Linked DNA regions of Homo sapiens: region 2 is linked to region 1. Evidence: promoter capture Hi-C in human tissues and cell types (Jung and others, 2019). All regions are on one chromosome and are shown on one strand. Each heading gives the region's core, a stretch centred on a gene start or on the middle of the fragment in contact. The rest is flanking DNA. Distances are from core to core; before and after follow the strand shown.

Region 1 (3,573 bases), core at 405-2,904:
AGCTCTGTTTGTGTTACCTTCGCAACAACTCAGGCAAGTGTTACTGCAGTTTTTATCTTTCTCAAGATTACAGCTGAGAAACTGACTTTTAGAGAGAGGAGATTAAGATGTTTGTGTAATGACAGATAACAAGTTAGAGGCAAAGCTAGAATTAGCAGACTGGAACTAGTTACTAGAATTCCTAGGAGTTATGACACAAGTGAATTGTCACTGCAATTAACTGGCCTGGCTAAACAAAGTTAGCATAAATTTTCAACCACTTTGGAAAACAATTTAGCTTTCTTAGAATTAATGTTGAAAATGTTCATTCTCTAATATCTGGCATTTCACTTCTACCTTAAGACAGTCAAGGACGTGCGTGCCAGGTTACATAAATAAAGAGTTCACAGCAATATTATCACAATAACTCCAAACTGGAAACAACTCAAATGTTTATCAACAGCAGAATGGATGATAAATTGTGGTATAGTTATACATTTGAATTTCATAAAGCAAAGAAAATATATGAACTATAGCTACACAGAAAATGGGTAGATCTCACAAATATAATTGTTGGGTGAAAGAAGAATTTACAAAAGAAACAGAGAATATGACTCCATTTATATGATGTCAAAAATAGGGAGGTTAATCATATTGTTTAGGCATGCAGACATAGATGGTCAAATTATAAAGAATAACAGGGACAAGAGGATCCCAACATCTTGGGGCAGAATGGGGGTTGATCAAGAATGGGCTTCTGGGTGCTGGCAATGATCTGTTTCTTGACCTGGATGATAATTATAGAAGTGTTGCCTTTCAGTTATTGTTTAAACTGTGTATGTTTATGCACTCTTAACTTTTTTTTTTTCAGTCATTTCTGAATTAGCAGGCTACCCATCACACTTCTTTCTTTCTTGGGATTTACCTCTTACTACTTCTTGCACTTTAATGGTGACCTTGAATATTTGTTGTTTTATGTGATTTTAGATGAATAAAACATGAAGAGTTAAGGTGAGAATTTCTAGTGAATTCAATTCAATCAACACATATGCTAACTGTAAGGTGTGGTGTGAACATTCCTTTCACACACATTTATACACTTTAGGAAGAATGAACCAGTTAGGCAGAAATTCAGATCAGCCAAGTTCCATTTTTCTGCTTTTAACCAATAAAGACACTTTGGGTTTCATTTTAAACATTCCCTGAAGTCAAGGTCATGCCATATGATCCAGTGATTGCAAATGGATGAACTAAAACCCAAAAAGCTCTGAATAAATTGTGCAGGAAGTTTGACATTGGCTTTCTTTGAATGGAGACTTAGAGAAGATAGAAAAAAGACCATCTTCCATAATACAAGAAAGAAAAAAAATTTTTTTTTACTAGGAAGGGAGAAAATGCATACCCTTAGGAGAAAAAAAAAGGAAAACAGAAAGCAATAGTACTCACTTTATATCTTAAGGCATGCTGTATCCAAGGGGCATTGCCTATTTCATTAAGAAATGCAAACATTCCTCTGCCTTTCTCATTTGCAGCTTGTACACACACACACACCGTATGCTAAGCATAAAAATCCTGCAGTTACCTGAAGAGGATCAAAGACACACCCTGGCTATGGCAGGTTTCTCCTCGCTGTCTCCAACTTGAGCTCCAACTCCTTCTCCCCTCCCAGGCTGTCTGGACTCCTGGACTCTGGGCAGCGCCTAAAGTAGTCCGTGGAAGCTGGCAATCACTGTGATGTCACTGATGAAACATCTCAAAGGAACACCCTCCGAAGGTTCGAGGCTATTTGTGTTCGGGGGACATGGAAATATGTTGACTAAGACTTTGTTCCTTTGGCTGCCAATTTGCCACCACCAGGATTTAAAAACCTTCTGTTTCCAGTTGACTTTTAGTGCAATTGATGTGGGTTTTAAATGTGTCTTTTACATCTTCATGAATAACTTTAACATGTCTTTAAAACATCATAAACCAAGAATGATAGACTAATTTTAACCAATCGATGCTGCATTTGACTGCTCTCCCTAGTCAGCCTGTGAGGTGTAAAAATGTGACTTCATTTTACCACCCATATCTTTAGTTATTTGAAATGTGAAGAGTTTGCTGCCTTACACCCACACATATGCACACCCATACACACACACACACACTCCAGAATTCAATAGGCATCTTTAGCTCTTTCAAAACTGACTTTAGTCCAAGCAGTGAAAGCTATCCCCTCCGTCACCTGCTCCACGTAACTTTCCAGCTAAGCTGTGCATTGCAAGTTTACACGTGGATCTACAGTTTCATCTGAAACAGCCGAGGAAGTCATGGTTTGTATATCTCTGGCAATAAATTAATAGAGCAGTAAACTCACACAGTTCAACTCAGTTATTTGGATAGATTGGGAGTGGAAGGAGAACTGGGTAAAATTAGTGAAAAATGTGAATTATAGAATATATCTGAAAGAAAGAAAAGTATTATATAACTTTCTAATATGAACACTAACTAAAATTAGACTAAGATGAGTTTGTAACCAATGTATCACATGTTTGGAGCCCCTGAAGTGTTAAATTAGACTTGAAAGCAGATCAATTAAGTACTTTAAACATGACCCTAGCAATTGTGTTTGCTCAGCAGATCCTTTCTTTATAGATAATAGAGGAAATCTCCCCCTCTGAATTCCCAATTAGGGTCAATCAAAATAATGCATTCCCAAAAGGCATAAACAAACAAAATTCTCTATGCAGTTATGCTCATAGTCAAACCTTTCCCTCCATTCCTCATACCCCAGAGACATTACCAAAACAAGACTTTCCATTTCATTTCCTCATTTTAACATAAGCTTAGCAACGGGTAATCTTAATACAACATTCTGTCACCACTTGTCTTGTGAAAAGAGCGCTTGCTGAAGTGACAGAGAGTGTATAATAATTATAGTGCAACCGAACATTGGCAGTTATCTGTTGCCATCTGGCAAACTCCTTGAATGTAATCAGAGTTCTGTCTTCTGCCTCCAAGCTCTCACTAGATTGTTTCCCAGGCTGGGAATGTTTTTCTAGTTACCAAGCCACACCTGTCCCTTTTTGTAACCACTCAAAATTATTTTTTGTCAAATTAAAAAAGTTATATATTTATTGTAGGACATGTGAAAATATATTAAAGTATTTAAAACTTTTAAATTACTTTTAATCTCACCACCCAAAGGGGAAAAAAACAAAACTTTACTTTACTTTTTTTTTCTTTTGAGATGGAGTTTTGCTCTTGTCACCCAGGCTGGAGTGCAGTGGCGTGATCTCAGCTCACTGCAACCTCCGCCTCCCGGGTTCGAGCGATTCTCCTGCCTCAGCCTCCTGGGTAGCTGGGATTACAGGCATGCACCACTATGCCTGGCTAATTTTTGTATTTTTAGTAGAGATGGGGCTTCACCATGTTGGCCAGGCTGGCCTTGAGCTTCTGACCTCAGGTGATCCAACCGCCTCAGCCTCCCAAAGTGCTAGGATTATAGGTGTGAGCCACCGGGTGCCCGGCCTACATTACTTTTTATTCATCCGTTTGAGGCTGCATAGGCACAATCTCAAATTCCCAGGATATTTTTGGTAAAAGAATCTGAAA
Region 2 (3,596 bases), core at 805-3,304, 130 kb before region 1:
CAACATGGCAAAACACCATCTCTACTAAAAAATACAAAAATTAGCTGGGCGTGGTGGTGCATGCCTGTAATCCCAGCTACTTGGGAGGCTGAGGCACAAGAATCGCTTGAACCCAGGAGGCAGAAGTTTCAGTGAGCCGAGATCGTACCATTGCACTCCAGGCTGGGTGACAAAAGTGACAGAATTCTTCAGTTTTGAGATAAAAATAAACTTCTGTTCCATAGGCACAAATAAGCCTTAGTGTTTATGTTTATTGTGAGGTAAATAGTAGAAAGATTAAGTCAAATCATACAATCCTCATGTGGGGTATAAATGTGGATTTTTTGCATTAGAAAATATTTTGGAATAAAACAACCTCACAAATTTGCCATACATACCAGAATAAGAAACTTGTTAAAATGTTGTAATGCCTAATAACTATTGTTAGAATGTATTAGTCGTGTCCTTTCAATAGTTTAATATGACCAAGCCATCTGTTTGAAATGTAATTTTGCCTGAGATTTTGTCTCTAGTTTTTTAATTCTTCTAAACTAAACGTCCAGCAGAATTCTCTTAAATAACTAGGGCCTGATTCAAAGTTTTCACTATATCCACGTTGTTTGCCAAGTACTTACTGTCTATGGACAGGTTTACCATGATAAAGAACATAACATGCAAAAACAGACCATTATTTTAATGAAGATTGTATGTGAAATCAGAATTATTTAGGCTATCTGTATATCTATTCATGAAAATACAGAACAGCTTTAAGATTTTTTATTACTGATTACTGACCCTCTTCTACACCTTCCCCTTTTTCCCCAAGTGGATAGATATTTTTTTCTCAGTGATGATATTCACCCCTTTTTTTAGGATGGAGATTTCTCCTCCCAGTGGATTAGAAAGAAGAAGCATGGCTATTTCTTTGCCATGCTGGCCACAGCCTTCTTAGCTGTATCCTCCAAGTCAATGCCATAAGTAATGGGGAGTTAGTTAGATGCTATTAAGCATATTTTAAGGCCCCTGGACATTGAATCCTTCAAACTTGACCACCAGAGGGGCCATGAGTTCTAGTTCTCAGCAGTGTTTGATGATGCCATTGGCAATGACAGCAAAATTCACTATCACACCTAAAACAATGTTGACGGTGATTTCAAACTTAGGATCAGCAATGAGCAATTTAAATGTTTAGTACACCTGAGCTTCCTCTACACTACTGCTAATATCTAAGAAGTTGGCTGGGCTTTGATCATTAAGGGTAATAACGTCTCAGAGAGCCATGTATGGCCCAGCATCACTTAGTAAGGATTCCCATCTAGTTTTAATTTTAGATCATATCTGGTTGCTTCATTTTCGATAGACACACCTTGAATTTGTTGGCCATGCCAAATATGTTTTTTGTGGACATTCTGCATTGTCCTCAAGGTTTATCATGACATCAAAATAGACAACCTATCATTCCAGAGTTTCACCAAAGGTTTCACTTCAAGCTAAGTAGCATATAATTTCAGGAAGCAGTAAAACAGCTGGTTAAGCCTGATTTTTGTAGACCTGTAGAAGCCTACATTTTCTCCCCTTTACTAAACTTGACTGTTCTCTATGCCCTCAAAATGTAAATTTCCTCCTTAAAAATAAATTCCGGTAAGAAGCTGCCACTTATAACGCCTCTCCTGGAGGCTGCCATCAGTAAAGGCCATTGCAGGATTAGCCCATTAAAACTTTATTGTGGGAACATCACACCCAGTGCCAGTTACGAAATATTCTAACTTTTACCCTGTTTTCTGACATCAGTTTCTTGCTCTTAGGTACCTGCAGGAGCAGCCATCTTTTAGATGTTAATTCAACTCCCTTGGACTTCTCTGAAAGGAGTGGGGCCTGAGCACCAGCATTCACAAAATTTTTTGACCTGCATTGTCATAGGAGAATGACACCTTAAACAAAAACCAGGCACAGAGGAGTCTGACTAGGTAACTGAGATGAGAGAAGAAGGGACCTTTTTTCCTCATTTTATTGAGATGGGTCTCACTATGTTGCCCAAGCTGGTCTCAAATTCCTGGGCTCAATTGATCCTCCCACCTCAGCCTCCCAAGTAATGGGGACTATAGGAAACAGCCACCATGCCCAGCGAGAAGGGTACTTCATACAGATTTAATTCTACATTGGAAACCAACCTTGAGAAAAAGCCTACATTGTGTGTGTGTGTGTTGGGGCAGGGAGCGGTGTGTATGCTTCTGTCCAGATCTGAGTTCCTGAAAATCATAGTGTCTTATCCAGCTTTGTATCCCCAGTATCTAGTATAGTGCCTTATATATACTAAGTGCTTAATAAATGGTTATGACATGAATTACGGTTTGGATGAGTCCTTGTGCCACTGGAAACCCTCTCGAGATCACATTTAGAGGACTGCCACAGCAGCATGTCTGAGAGTCTTAGTTTGTTTAGTTTAACGCATTCTCTAACATGATGATTAACCCTCATGTAATCTCAGTCACAATTTTATCACTATAGATATTAATGAGCATGTTGAATCCAGCTGCTGCTGTGGTTTTACGTCCAGAATACCATAAGCCTATAAAATCCATTCCATTGGAAAGCAGAGTGGCCTTACATTAATTTCTAAGCTTTACACAACAATTAGGCAAAATTAGACAAGACTTCATGCTTTTTAAGTCCAAAGATTCCCTTTCTAGTTTTATTATGAAGCCAATACATCGAAGAATACTTTCCTCCCACAGTGCTTAAGACCAGTGCTAGATTACAAATACATAAATGGGCCATGACTTCCACCCCACCCACAAAATGATCCAGGCAGGAAATTCCAACTTGCTTGTCCATTGCTCAATCTACCCTTTGCTAAAGGAAGACATTTCTAGGTGAGGACATTTATAGTCAAATAAATTCTAAATGATAATGTTCAGTAACAGATCTTCTGAGCAAGGAAATATATCCACCTGTCTGGAAAAGACTCAAATTCTGTGTCACTTGTAATGGGCCAGTATGGAGTCTAAGCTGATGACAAAGCATCTCCTAGCTCTTCCCCTTCCTCTTCAGCTCTCCGGCTGTAACTCTGGGGAGGCTGTAGAGGCACAACATTCTCCTCTCTGGATTCTTCACTCATTACCTGTAAATGCTACATCACATGATCTCAGTTTCTTCAAATACCCTCTCTGTTGACTGCATGTTAATCTGTTCAATAGGTATTTTTATCCCAAAATAATGCAGGACCCAGAGGTGGAGAAATCTGTGGATTTGTGGTGGAAGAGAAATTATGAAAAGAAAAACTGAGCCAGATCCTGGTGAAGCAATTCTAGGGTTAGCAAGAAAACCAATTAGAAAAGAACTATAGTCTAAGGAGCCACATAGAGTTGAGAACCTGCTTACATTCATTCATTCCTTTCACACTTTTCCTTGAGTATCTATTACATATTGGTCATCTGCTAAGTTCTGTAATACAAAGATGAATGAGACCCTCCCCTTGAATTACTCACATTAAACAGTGGCGAGATTGTCTCTAATTGCTATGGCATACATGTGTACAAATATGCTTTGAAGAAGTCAGTTCTAAGTGATACCAAGGCTGCCTCACACTTAGACAATAAGAGAATCAGAGAGAAAAG

The links. The method cuts DNA at HindIII sites, captures the fragments that hold promoters and counts their contacts. A contact is called where the count stands out against the background at its distance.
Region 2: a fragment that was not itself captured here is called in contact with the fragment with the promoter of SLN in region 1 in 4 of the 25 tissues and cell types used here (H1 embryonic stem cells, dorsolateral prefrontal cortex, heart right ventricle and 1 more).

The regions. Positions count from the first base shown.
Region 1 is chr11:107,710,402-107,713,974 of GRCh38, forward strand. It overlaps SLN (sarcolipin), which reads right to left and starts at 1,655. Exons shown (of 2, transcript NM_003063.3): 1 at 1,562-1,655. The HindIII fragment of the contact is 6,706 bases long and covers 1-3,573 here.
Region 2 is chr11:107,585,001-107,588,596 of GRCh38, forward strand. It overlaps the pseudogene SUCLG2P3. Among named protein-coding and RNA genes, the nearest start is that of ELMOD1, 4.3 kb to the right of the region's middle. The HindIII fragment of the contact is 4,248 bases long and covers 1-3,596 here.